Linked DNA regions of Homo sapiens: regions 2, 3, 4 and 5 are each linked to region 1. The links are contacts of gene promoters, found by promoter capture Hi-C in blood cells and fetal thymus (Javierre and others, 2016). All regions are on one chromosome and are shown on one strand. Each heading gives the region's core, a stretch centred on a gene start or on the middle of the fragment in contact. The rest is flanking DNA. Distances are from core to core; before and after follow the strand shown.

Region 1 (2,700 bases), core at 199-2,698:
TTGCTCTCCATCTGCAGATATAGCAAATTCAAGACAGTTAATTCATCCATATTTTGAACAATATTTTCCTCTTGGGTTAACTAAATGAGATACAGGAATATACTTACTTAAGCTCTTAAGTCATTTTCACCAGTACTTGCTCTGTTTCTAGATAATAAACTGATTTAGCATTAAAATCAATTTAAGAAATGAAACCTCAATATATTTTATTATACTGGGATATAATGCAACCAGAGGCATTGAGAAGCATGCATTGTTGTTTAGAAAATATTATGGAGGAATAACATCTTATTATTTCACACTTAAGAGTAGAGTTATAGTGTAGGCTTTTACTATTTCATCTGAGAATATCATTTTTCTTTGTATTGGTAGTCATATTCCAGTTTTTTTAATTCAAAATGTTGCCCTTGAATATTACGATTAATTCATACTCAAAATGAATTTTAAACTTTTCCTTTTATGCACCAGTGAGAATCAATTATCTTAAACAATTTCTTGGTTACTGAGAGACTAAATACATGCATTATTGTTGCTCTACTTCATGTCTCTCTCCTATTATTTATGCTAAATATAAAAACACTAATACCAGTAGGCAGTTTATTGACTTCCCCTGTTATTGCCCTGAATACAGTGAATGCTAAATAGTAATTAAATTATAACTTAATCAAGATGTAGAAATTCATCACAATTTTTTTTACATTTCTTTTTTTTATCTAAGTGAATTTCTCCATTGTCATATAACCAAATACAGTTCCTTTCAACCAAATACAATTCCTTCTCTCTATTTTCCCTTCATCCTGTTGCCTTATTAAAGTAAAATTCTTTGATTAAACCCAGCTAACATTTACTCTGGCCATCTAAGTGGCCAGAGCATATAAATGGGACCAAAAAATTAAACAAAACAAAACAAAAACACACTGTCTTGCTTCACTTCATGTCAATGTCATCCAATATGAGGAAATCACTGCTTGTCAATTCCCATTACACTTGCTTAACGTTTGTTCTCCAACTTTCTAAACAAATTCTTTTTTTCTGTGTCTTCAAATCTGCTGCACCTATACCTATTTTAGCCCGGTCAGCCAATGCATTTGACTTAATACGTTGATAAATGAAAGTGATCAGACAAATACTATCTCATATTTATACATTTCTATTAGTACTAGTTTTCAAAATTGCCTTAAATGACTTTTCATCACTAATGCAATTTTACCATTATTGGACATCTAATTTTATTTAACTTTGTAGTGAAGAGATACATGATTTAAATGTTAAATAATTAATTTTCAGATAAAGGTCTCAAAATTTCATGCTTTTCTGTTTTATTAGTTGCATTTCTATCCACAAACTTGTAACTATTCTTAAATAAAATAGTCTGTCAACCCAATTATGGCTTACCTTTAGGGATTTGCATGAAGCTGTCTGTACAGACTTTTTAAGCTCTTCCTTTTCTCGGGAACTGTAATTTTGCAATACGCTTGCTTGTTTCAAACAGCAACAGCTCTTATATAGGAATAGTCAGACTCAACCTGGGATGTGTCTTCTCTTGAGTATCAGTTTAATTTCTAGAAGGCTGCTTCTGTTTGTCAATCATTCTGATTCATTTTTCAAAACTACTTTAAGTAAACTTATCCTCCTCTTCATCTCCTCATGAGGGGAGTTAATTAAATACCATTTAGTTGTCTAGTATTACTTTCAGGAAAAAGTTAAAAATTTTCCAACTGTGTATTTGAGGCCCCTAATACTTAGTGTGGATTTGTCTGCCTTACTTCTATTCCAATAATTTATCCAGATCCAAATTAACTAGACCTTTAAAAAATATATCATGTGTTTAATCACACGAACATGATATGCTTGATGTCTTCGACATATTGAACGGTGAGATTCTTTTTCAGATGTGGAACCCTCTGTTCCTAGGTTAACTTTTTTTGTGGATATTAAAACATGTTAATTCTGCTGAGAAAATCTATCTATACATTTATTTCATTCTGTGTTGTCTATAAGGCACCAGGGAAATGTATCCAGCTGATTGAAAATGTAATATACCACTCCAAGACGTCCCACTAGACGCAGTCAAGAGGAACATCGCCCACGAGGGACCAGGACATCAGGAAGATTGGTGCACTCCTAGCAAATCTTCAGAAGGAAAGGAATTCTGCATGGGGGTACCACACACAGGAAGCATTCCTGGCCCCCAGTGACTCCTGCAAAAGCATGAGTTGAATGGGCAAGGAGCAACCCTCTCTTTCCATGAGCCTCCGAATCCCAGCAGGAGAAAACCCCTGGACCACAAGTAACACTTGAACTGGCAGGGAGAGATGCTTAGACAAGTGGTAGGGGCAGAACTCCAGCCTGTGTGGAATCCAGAGGGTTTAGTGTGAAAGTGTCTGTAGTGGAGCATGGCCAGGGATGCCCATCCCCCCAGGCTTGACCTGCTCCCGTAGGAAGCTTTAGCCCTATGGGAACTATGGGACCTGAATTCTGCACGGCAGTCTCACCCACTACATGAGGCTATTCTAACTTCAGCACCACTCAGTTTGCTGGCCTCTCCTGGGTCCCAGCTTGGCCCCCAGCCAGGTACCTCCTGGGGGCCACATCATAGCTCCTGTGCTGGTGGACCCCCGGCTGACCAGCAGACTGATCCAGCAGAGTAGCCTGTGCAGACACAGGCCAGCCCACCAGCACCCTCCCTGCACTGCAGCC
Region 2 (2,700 bases), core at 35-2,534, 820 kb after region 1:
AGGGCAGATAAGGCTACTATACAGTGACAGGAGCCCGAATGTTTCCCCATAGTACAAAATGACTGCCACTGAATCTACATTTAGGTCACAAAAAGGAGACAGGTGACAAGAAGAATGCTAACCTAAACATCTAAGGAGACTTCCCAGAAGAACCTCACACATTTTCTTCTTACATTTCAGTACTTTGTCATGTGGCAACAGCCACGTACAAAGGAGATTGAAAAATGTAGTGTTCTATCTTGGTTGCAATGTGACCAGCTAAAAATGGGGCTTCCATTAAGCAAGAGGAGAATGAAAGATGGAATTCCTCTTTAGTAGTATTTGCTACAGAGGTAAATGTAATTTATTTGGCTTCTTTTCTTCTTAGCCATTTTTTCCCCTTAGATGATCTTCCTTTCATGCTGGCATTTGTATGATAGCTAAAAGCACAAGTTTTGCTGTCTGAGGACCTGAGTTAGAATCCCAACCCCACTGTAAATAAACTGTATGATCCTGTCTCCATCATGAGATATATTTGATCCTTCTTTTTTTGTAGGATAATGATTCCTAGCTCTTCTTTTTTTGTAGTAGTGCTGATCCCTAGCTCTTCTTTATTTGTAGTAATACTAATCCCTAGCTGGTTCGCCATTAAATGCACGCTTCTCTCCCTCCAAAGGAGAAAAGAACTTTTCCTGTCTCATTTACTGCTGTATCCTCAGGACTTGGAATAATGCCTGCTAATCAGGAGTCACCATATACATATTTTTTAACTTAATTTTGACAACTAAAAATCCTCTTGCGAAGAATATCTAATAGCACATAATTTATTTTAAAATATTTAGGATTTATCTAGTTAAAAGCAAGCTAAAAATAACATTTAATATAAAATCCTATAAAAATCTTGTAAAAATATATATACCTACATATAAGAAAATGCTGGAAGAGTGTAAACAATGGATTTAGCATAGATTATTTATACAAACAAAATTACATGACAAGAACGTGTGTTTTTCTAGATCCCATTGTCTTATAAAATAAACTATCTGCATTTTTATATTTCAGAATCCTATATATATGGTACAAACATATAAATTTTAAATAGTAGAAAAAAATATCTATTTTGATGTATATTACCATTGTTTTCATATGTGAGTAGTGAAATTACATGTGAGTTTTACTTTCTTTGTGTTCTGCTTTCCAAACATTCTCTAATAATTTTAGGTCTCTAAAAGTATGTATTTATTGCTTTTCCTAGGCAACAAGAGAAAGTATTTTTTTAATTTAGGCCCATATATTTTATATTCTTATTAGGCCAAAGACGTTTTGATTCAATTAATACATTAAATTATATAATAATCTTACTAAGTGGAACAATTTTCTCATTTCAAGAAAAATGTTGTTTACTACTTTTAAAATATGGTAAAAACTGTGGTTGGAAAAAGTGATTTCTGAAATCTCTAAGAGGGTGCAAAGCCTCTCATCACACTCAGGCTACAGACAGTCTGTTTTCTGTCAACATCATTAGATTTGCCTTCAACCCATTATTTTTGGCATTGGAATTGCTCAAGTGCAATTCAAGGAGATTGCAGTTACTGACCCATTGTTCTGAGTCCAGACAAGACCGCTTTCCATCTGAACATGTCTATTGGTCTCTCCTTCAATGAGACACCCATGAAATATTGAGAGCCTTGGGGAAAGTTGAGTGTCCACACATATCATCCCAATGTGTTCCAGGGAAGTTTGTAAACACTGGAGAAGATCTGATAGCACCTGATTCATTCTGAAATTGGGGTTCTGTATGAAGAGTTATTTTAGATGCACAGGATCAGCTCTGCATCCACTTTTCTGACCAGAAACTCTTCCTTAATTTCAAAGAAACAAAAAGATGCTAAAACTATTTTAAAATTTTGTCTATTATATTTCTTTTTCAATTTGGAAACAACAAAAATGGGTAACATGAAAATAGGCTGTAAATTTTCTGTATTTTAATTTACCTCTAACTTTTCCATACCCAGTGCCTCTGAATTTTAAAAATTTTTCTATTTTACTATTCACTTTCTTGCATTTTATTTCTAGTTTCTATAATAAGCTATTCCCATTTATTTTTACCTAAAAGAACTAAGAAAAAAACTAAATATCAACAAATAAAGTAATAGCTGAAATGACTTAAGAGTCAAATACACAGAGAGTCATCTGAAAATTATTGCCAGGATTTGTCTCTGTATGAAATAGTAAGATTCTAGGGTTTTTATTTTTATTGTTGCTCCTCTTTTCCTTTATATTTTATATTTTCTGTTATAATGATGATTTATTTTGTTTTTAGAATATAAAAATAAAGAAAATAGGCATAAAATAAATTCAAAGGAATATAAGAAAAAGAATTCCTTTTATTTAAAAAATTATTTTTAAGCAAAGTAACCTTTTATATTTTCAATTCTGTAGATGGGAATGGGGAACACATGTTTTTTTTCCAATAAATCACTCCTGGTGTGGACATTTACATTATTAAATATAACTAGTGTGCTAGTAATAACAGTCGCTAGATGGTTCTAATATTCATTAGACTTTATCATATTCCTAATAATGAAGATTTTGGGGAGACATATAATTGTTCTGACTCTGTAGGTAACTAAAAATTTTTATCATTTATAGAAAGATGATGAAATGGAGGTTTTTCCAAAAGTAAGTAGTAAAATAAAAGTCAGATGGAAGCATAGAAAT
Region 3 (2,700 bases), core at 138-2,637, 750 kb after region 1:
CACCACAAGCCTCTTGGGTTCTCAGCCCTTTGAACTTGGACTGAACCACACTACTGGAATTCTAGGGTCTCCGGTATATAGTCTGCCTTTTGTCGGACTTCTCAGCCTCCTTAATCACGTGAGCCAATTTTCCTAATAAACCCCCTCTTGTAAACCTCTATGTCTGTCTATCTATCTATCTATCTATCTATCTATCTATCTATCTATCTATCTCTCTATCTCCTATTGGTTCTGTCTCTCTGGAGAACGCTTACTAATACACCCTAGAACTAATAACTTCTGAGCACTGTTACCACCTCTATCCTTAATCATACAAGAAGAGAGAGAGGTTATGGGCACTGAAGAAAGAGTTTTGAAAAAGGGTCACCTGTTAGTAGCTATGGTCTAAGGCCATGGATACACCAGTTGTGCCATGTCTGTAGATAAGGAGCCTGGGGGAAACTCTCTGCCTTCACTGTCCTCCCTGCCATTGATAACCATTGGGTAAAGCTATTAAATAGTAAGCAAAGATCCCACTGATGCAAATTAATACAGGTGAACATCCTGGAGCAAAAAAAGGAGTTTAGAAGGATGGAGAATGGATTTGGAGGGAAAAATGAGATACATCCAACATACAACAGAAATATTAGTAAGGAAGTTCGTATGTGTTTTAATATGCAAATATAAACATATGAATATTAATAACACACATAATATATGTGTATACATATTATAGTTAAGCTTCTGCACAACTCAAGGGAGAATGAGAATAAAAATTATAACTAATTACATTTTTCACAAGGGAATCATAGTCTCCAAAATTTTTCCTCCTTTCTCAGTAATAATCCCCAATTCATCAATACAAAATTTAGTTTAATTGCCTTGTTAGCTATTCTCCAAATTGTGAAACCCTGAGGGGTTTCAGGAATCCGTAACCCTGGGAATTCATACTCTGACATAAAAGAATCTGGGAAAGGCAAACTTAAATTCTATTGAGATGATGGTGTTGCTGAGAATTTTAGGTAAGTTGCTTAATTCAAATGTTAAATGTAGATGGAAAATTTTTCTTCTTCCTCATAACCAGTCCAATAACCATTTACATAGTAATATATGATAAGTGCTAAAGAAAGCTTTTCTTTTTTTCTTGAGACAGAGTCTCACTCTGTTGCCCAGGCTGGAGTGCAGTGGAGGTGCCTTCATGGCTCACTGCAACCTCAATCTCCCAAGATCAAGCAATCTTCCCACCTCAGCTTCTGGAGGAGCATGGACTACAGGTACACCCTATCACATCTGGCTAATTTTTTTTTTTTATTTTTTGTAGAAACAAGATTTCACCTTGTCACCCAGTCTCGTTTTGAACTCCTACACTCAGCCTCCCAAAGTGCTGGGATTGCAGGTGTGAGCCACTGCCCCTGTTTTGAAATATATTCATCATCTTCCTGTTTTAATTTCTAAAACTGCTGGCAGCTCACACACAGAAGTAGAATTTCACACTATTAGATTCAAAAAAAAGAGCAATTAACAACACAGAAAATTGCAAGGGAAGAAAAAAAAACAAATGCACAAACAGGCAACGATTAGGAGCCACTAACAAAAGAGATAGTCTTGTTAATATCTCAAGAGCAAGAATGAGAAGAAAGAATTAAATAGAAGATATTATCAGTCTAACGGCCAAAAGACATCAAGAAAAGCTTAACATGTTGCTTTTAAAGTTTGATATTCTTTAAGAAAGTGTGAAGGCATATGGTAATTTTAAGGAAACCTCTAACAATAGAAGCATATCTCTAAATACAAAAAGTTGTATTTTAATAATTTTGGATGAAGAATGCACTTTTAGCTTTTAATATAAAAATATAATATTAGTTAGGAAGGATAGTATGTTAGCTGGTTAGTACTTCCTGCCAGCTATTATAGTCTTCTTGTTCTGATTAAGAAATACAGATGTTGGCTTGTCAAACCATCCTCTCTACCAGTGTACATAAGTAAGTATCCAGGGAAACACAAAGGAAATGTGTGTTTTACCATTTTTTTGTGTGTGTGTGTGTGTGTGTGTCCCAGGGTGTATTATGAGCATTGTTTTTTCCAGTGAGAAGAATTATATACTTTTCTTAACAGTCTCAGAGGTAGCTGAGCTCAATAAAACTCAATTATCTTTTCTGAGTAATGAACCTCAGAGCAAAATATGTGAACGAAGGGATGGAAGAGTCAAAGGGAAAGAGCATCACCCTGGGCTCCCTAAGAATAGTTAGACCTGTGAACTATTGAGCAAAGGCTACTGGTGATGGGATGGAGAAGAGAATGCTGATAGGAGAAGAAAGTACATCAAACTGTCAGTAGGTGATAATATATAAAAATTTAATACATTGAAATATTTTACATAAAAAAACAATCCATCCCAGCATTTTGGAAGGCTGAAGCAGGCAGATCACTTGAGGTCAGCAGTTTGAGACCAACCTGGCCATCATGGTTAAACCTTGTCTCTACTAAAAATACAAAAAAAGTAGCCGAGTGTGGTGGCACATGCCTGTAATCCCAGCTACTGGGGAGGCTGATGCAGGAGAGTCACTTGAGCCTGGGAGGCAGAGGTCTCAGTGAGCTGCCGAGATCGCACCACTGCACTCCAGACTGGGCAACAGAGCGAGACTCTGTCTCAAAAAAAAAAAAAAAAAAAAGCAATCCATTGCTTTACAACACTGTAACATCATTAGTTACGATAAACTA
Region 4 (2,700 bases), core at 59-2,558, 800 kb after region 1:
AAGATGGGGCCAATTGGGATTCCAAAGATAGAAACACTAAACACCAGGGTGATCCATCCAAAGCATTTATTAGAGAAATTTACAAAGTGCTGCAGCAATCCTCATGACAGATGGCAAGAGAAAGGGAGGTTCTGCTGGGCATATGCCCAATGAATGTGTTGGGTTATGGAATTTATAGGACAGTTTAAAGAATTCATCTCAGGACCAGGGCTAGTTTCTTTTCGTATCTGAGACAACAACCTAAACAAGTGTATCAGTGCCTGGAAATGTCCAAGCTTGAGTTCAAGTATGCAGGGAAAAACATGGAGCTGGTAAGGTCACAAGAGCAATCAAGATACTCCATATTTTTTGGTCAAGACAAAGAAAAAATGGGAAAAATAGAGGAACCCCACACTGCCCTTGTAGTCCCAAAGCATCCAAGGACTATTCATAAATCAGTAGTTGTGGTTTATATATTATTACCTTACATGTGGATACATTTTTGGTTATCACACCTGGAATGAGGGGTGTTAAAGGCATCTAATGCAGAGGGCAGAATGTGGTTAAATGTCTTACAATGCAAAGGATATCCCCACAATTAAGAGTTATCCAGGCCAAAATGTCAGTAGAACTGTTGTTGAGAGATTCTAATATAAAGATGGTTGTGTTCCAGCAAAACTTTTTTTATGGATGCTAAAATCTAAATTACAAATAATTTTCATGAGTCATAAAATATTCTCCTTTTGACTGTTTCCAATCATTTAAGAATGTAAAAACCATTCCTGACTTGCAAGTTGTACAAACACAGGTGTCAAGCTGGATTTGATACACAAATCATAGTCTGCTGATTTCTGAAGCAGAATATTTAAAGTGTATTGAAGGAGTAAAACTAAGTATATTTTGTGGAACTCTTCTTCCAGTTGTATATTTGTATGACTCTACTGGGTCTTTCTATATTTCCTTCTGTGGGACATGTTTGAAAGATAGCGATTGGGAGAAATGATTCTTTTGTAAGAAAGAATTTAGATAGCAATATCCCTCTAAATTGTGGCCAATTCATTGTGTTCTCCTTGAATTAGATTCTTATTTAAAAATTATGGTTTGAAACTCTACAGGAAGCACCTTTAAATGAAGACAAGACTGTACAGTTTGGCTGAACTCAACCAAGACTTGACTGTGGAGACCCACACGTAATGTTGTTCAAGACTAAATCACTAAACCTTTGGCAAAATAATCTATGAATTGACTCCTTTGTTCTGATGAGACTTGTCTTTCTGAAGCCCATGGAGCAATCTACCTGTAGGCTCAGGGTAAGCCATGTCATAGCTCCAAAATGTTCCCAGAATTACATGTTTTTCTCTTATTATACCCAGTCTTTAATAAAGACTCATTAGAAGTTGCAGACTGGCCTCAACTATGCTGTGGGTGGCTCTGGATAAGATAGGCTGGTTTGCAGGTTTGGGAAGAAATGGCAGAGGGAAGACTAGCCACAGCAGGGAAGCAGAAGAAACTTGCAGCAATTAGTCCTGGAGCCTGTCAGTGGAGCAGAAGCAGCCAGAGGCAATCAAGGAGGCAGGAGAGCACCAGCACTCATTGTTTCCCCTGGAATACCCTGAACTCCATGGAGAAGAGACACTGGTACAGTTGCATTTCTTGCAGCCCAGAAGAATGAGAACTGGAGTCTATTATAATTTGACATTAAAGGAAAAAGCATGTCATTTTAAGCTATAAGCTAAAATATCCAGGGGATGCTTGGGTTATGCACAGACTCAGCAACAAACACGTCCCTGAATAAGAGGTGCCACCCCATCTTACTCCCCATTTGGAGTTCTTTCCATTGGACAAGTTATTTGTAATGAAATTACTGAGTCCAACTACAGAAGCATTTTAAAGCCTCTTGATAGATATTTACAAATTTATTTTGCCATTTACAAGAACAAAGTGCATTTTACTTACCAAGCTGTGAGATATTTTCCAATGTTTGGTTTAAGCATTTTCTCTGGACATTTTAGTCAGAACTGTTCTCATATATCTATGAGCCCTTTGCAAAAATAGTAAGAAAACTTCCAGGTATGTATTTTCTACAAATATTTTCCCACATTTTAAATTGATTTTTAATTTTTTGACCATGGAAGTTTTATGATATATGGTCAAACCTATCTAGCATGTTTTTTCTACACCCCTTTTAAGCCTAGAAAATACACCAGTACCCCCATATGTTTTGCTAGTATTATGCTTATCTTTACCATTGGTTATCTGAGTCATTTTTCAGAGCAAATATTGACTAAATTCTTTCTTCCTCATGCCCTTCTCATTCCTTTTCTTTAAGAAACAAAAATTTTAAAGATCTATTTTTAAGTGGTAAAGCTTCTCTCTATCACTTCTCAAAACTCAATTTATTTTACCTTAAGTGACAGGAAAGATTTACATTCCTATCGTGTTCTTTCTTTCCCTACATAACATTGTTTTTCAAACTGTAATCCTGGGACAGAACTTCTGCCTATAACTCAGACAAAAGGTTCCATTGTCAAATAACACTGGTTCCATCAATATAAACAGATTTATTTAATGCCATAGTTCTGGAAACACTTTCTATGCTAAAGTTCTTTTTGAGTCACCAAGGGGAGGGAAGGTGGAACATACAAGACACAGTCTTCTCCAAAATACTTTATTATGAATTTGTTTTCTATGTCTACCAGTAACTCACACAGTTGGAGAAGG
Region 5 (2,700 bases), core at 48-2,547, 840 kb after region 1:
AATCAAAACCACAATGAGATACCGTCTCACACCAGTTAGAATGGCAATCATTAAAAAGTCGGGAAACAACAGGTGCTGGAGAGGATGTGGAGAAATAGGAACACTTTTACACTGTTGGTGGGACTGTAAACTAGTTCAACCATTGTGGAAGTCGGTGTGGCCATTCCTCAGGGATCTAGAACTAGAAATACCATTTGACCCAGCCATCCCATTACTGGGTATATACCCAAAGGAATATAAATCATGCTGCTATAAAGACACATGCACACGTATGTTTATTGCAGCACTATTCACAACAGCAAAGACTTGGAACCAACCCAAATGTCCAACAATGATAGACTGGATTAAGAAAATGTGGCACATATACACCATGGAATACTATGCAGCCATAAAAAATGATGAGTTCATGTCCTTTGTAGGAACATGGATGAAGCTGGAAACCATCATTCTCAGCAAACTATCGCCAGGACAAAAAAAACCAAACACCACATGTTCTCACTCATAGGTGGGAATTGAACAATGAGAACACATGGACACAGGAAGGGGAACATCACACACTGGGGCCTGTTGTGGGATGGGGGAAGTGGTGAGGGATAGCATTAGGAGATATACCTAACGCTAAATGACGAGTTAATGGGTGCAGCACACCAACATGGCACATGTATACATATGTAACAAACCTGCACGTTTGCACATGTACCCTAAAACTTAAAGTATAATAAGAAGAAGAAGAAAAGAAAAGCCTAGGATGTCCTATCTTTCCCCCACTCACCCAGTCCACTTTGCCCTCTTGAAACCAGCAAACCAAGATCCTTCCTCAGAATCTTTGCTCTCTTTTTTCCTTCTTCTCAAAACAATTCTCTCCAAATAGCTGCACAATTTGTTTCATTTTATCCGAGTTTCTGCTACAATATCCTCTCATCAGAAAGGCTTTCTCCAATCATCCTTCGGAAAAGAGTACAGCTGACCCCAACTCAGCCTCGTTCACTTCATTTCTCTTTGCCCAGTTTTATTTTTATTGAAAGTAATTGGTATTAACTAACATTGACTTGTTATTGCATTCACCTACCCCATAAGAATGAGCAGGGATTTTGTAGGATTGTCCACAATATATTCCCAAGCTTCCAAAGAGTTCATTAAAAAATAAGTGCTCGATGAATATTTTCAGACAAATGAGTAAGTGAATAAATGGACAAATACTTCTAAGAGTATGGCTGTAAAAAGGGGAGTTAGGAAATTAATCTAATTTCTTTTAGGGGTTGGATCATGAGAAACCTTATCTTGCACCACATATAAATATCAACCCAAAATGGATTCAAAATTTAAAACCTCAAACTGTGAGATTAATAGAAAAAAAGATAAAGGGTAAAAGCTCCATCACATTAGTCCGGGCATTATTTTTTTGTGTGTTTGTTTATTAGCCCAAAAGCACAGGCAACAGAAGCTAAACTAGACAAATTAAGTTGCAAACTACAAAGCTTCTGAACACGAAAAGAAAAAGTTATCAGTGAAAAAAAACACCCATGGATTGAGAGAAAAGATGTGAAAACTATATATCTGATCAGGTGCTTCATTTCTTCCTTATCCAAAATGTGTAAGGAACTCACATAACTCAACAGCAAAAAAAAAAAAAAAAAAAAAAAAAAAATGGCCAAAAAGGCTTGATAGACACTTCTCAAAACAAGACATACAGATGGCCAACAAGTATATAAAAAATATTCAACATCATTAACAATCATGAAAATGTAATAAAATATCAACTAGCATCTGTTAGAATGAGTATTATCAAAATACAAAAATGACCAATATTGGTAATAATGTGGAGAAAAGATAATCCTTGTAAACTGTTGGTAGAAATGTAAATTAGGGCAGTCATAATTAAAAACAGTGTGGAGATTCCTCAAAAAACTAAAAACAGAATTATCATACATTCCAACAATGTTGCTTCTGGGCGTATGTCCAAAAAAATCTAAATCAATATGTTGAAGAGATATCTGCACTTCCATTTTTATTGCAGCATTATTCACCATAGCCAAGATGTGAGAGCAACTTAAGTATTGATCAATGGATGACTAGAGGAAGAAAAGTTTATGTATTTAGTAGTATATTCAGTCATAAAAAATAAGGAAATTTGGTGACAACATTGATATACCTAGAAACATTATGCTAAATAAAATAAGCCAGGCACAGAAAGTTAAATACCACATGATCTCACTTACACGTGGATTCTAAAAAAAAGTCAGACTCATAGAAGTAGAGAGTAGAATGATGGCTACCGGGATCTGGAAGTAGGGGTGGGGATAAAAAGGAGATTTTGGTCAAAAGATACAATTATTCAGACTATATTAGAGTGAATATCTTTACATAGAGGACAAGAACTAAAAGATTATGAATATTATAGAATGGAAAAATAAATATCACAAGCAATGATGATATGACAATGACAACAACCAAAAGCTATCAAAAGTGAAAAACAGAATAAGAAAGAATTTGGCAGATGGAATACATCCACCCATCTTCTCATCTCATAGGAAATTTCTATCAGAAAGTATTTAAAGTTGACAGCATTCCATGTATATTTTGAAAAGGAAAAAAATTAACCACTAGAACCAACAAGAATAATACAACCTAAAAAATTCTAGAATGACAACAAAAAGACACATAAGTATCCTTTTTGAACATTTTTCTTAGCCTGGAATT

Evidence for each region. The method cuts DNA at HindIII sites, captures the fragments that hold promoters and counts their contacts. A CHiCAGO score of 5 or more calls a contact.
Region 2: a fragment that was not itself captured here is called in contact with the fragment with the promoter of OR10AG1 in region 1 in 1 of 17 cell types (erythroblasts); the score reaches 6.8 in erythroblasts.
Region 3: a contact is called between a fragment that was not itself captured here and the fragment with the promoter of OR10AG1 in region 1, in 1 of 17 cell types (erythroblasts). The highest score is 5.3, in erythroblasts.
Region 4: a fragment that was not itself captured here is called in contact with the fragment with the promoter of OR10AG1 in region 1 in 4 of 17 cell types (erythroblasts, M1 macrophages, endothelial precursors and 1 more); the score reaches 8.4 in erythroblasts.
Region 5: a fragment that was not itself captured here is called in contact with the fragment with the promoter of OR10AG1 in region 1 in 1 of 17 cell types (erythroblasts); the score reaches 7.0 in erythroblasts.

What each region holds. Positions count from the first base shown.
Region 1 is chr11:55,968,497-55,971,196 of GRCh38, forward strand. OR10AG1 (olfactory receptor family 10 subfamily AG member 1) reads right to left here and starts at 1,449. Exons shown (of 2, transcript NM_001005491.2): 1 at 1,396-1,449; 2 at 1-11. The coding sequence starts at 1,411. The HindIII fragment of the contact is 3,009 bases long and covers 1-2,443 here.
Region 2 is chr11:56,786,000-56,788,699 of GRCh38, forward strand. No RefSeq gene overlaps it. Among named protein-coding and RNA genes, the nearest start is that of OR9G4, 39 kb to the left of the region's middle. The HindIII fragment of the contact is 2,975 bases long and covers 1-2,700 here.
Region 3 is chr11:56,721,703-56,724,402 of GRCh38, forward strand. No RefSeq gene overlaps it. Among named protein-coding and RNA genes, the nearest start is that of MIR6128, 21 kb to the right of the region's middle. The HindIII fragment of the contact is 561 bases long and covers 1,108-1,668 here.
Region 4 is chr11:56,767,326-56,770,025 of GRCh38, forward strand. No RefSeq gene overlaps it. Among named protein-coding and RNA genes, the nearest start is that of OR9G4, 20 kb to the left of the region's middle. The HindIII fragment of the contact is 2,071 bases long and covers 274-2,344 here.
Region 5 is chr11:56,806,568-56,809,267 of GRCh38, forward strand. No RefSeq gene overlaps it. Among named protein-coding and RNA genes, the nearest start is that of LINC02735, 41 kb to the right of the region's middle. The HindIII fragment of the contact is 357 bases long and covers 1,120-1,476 here.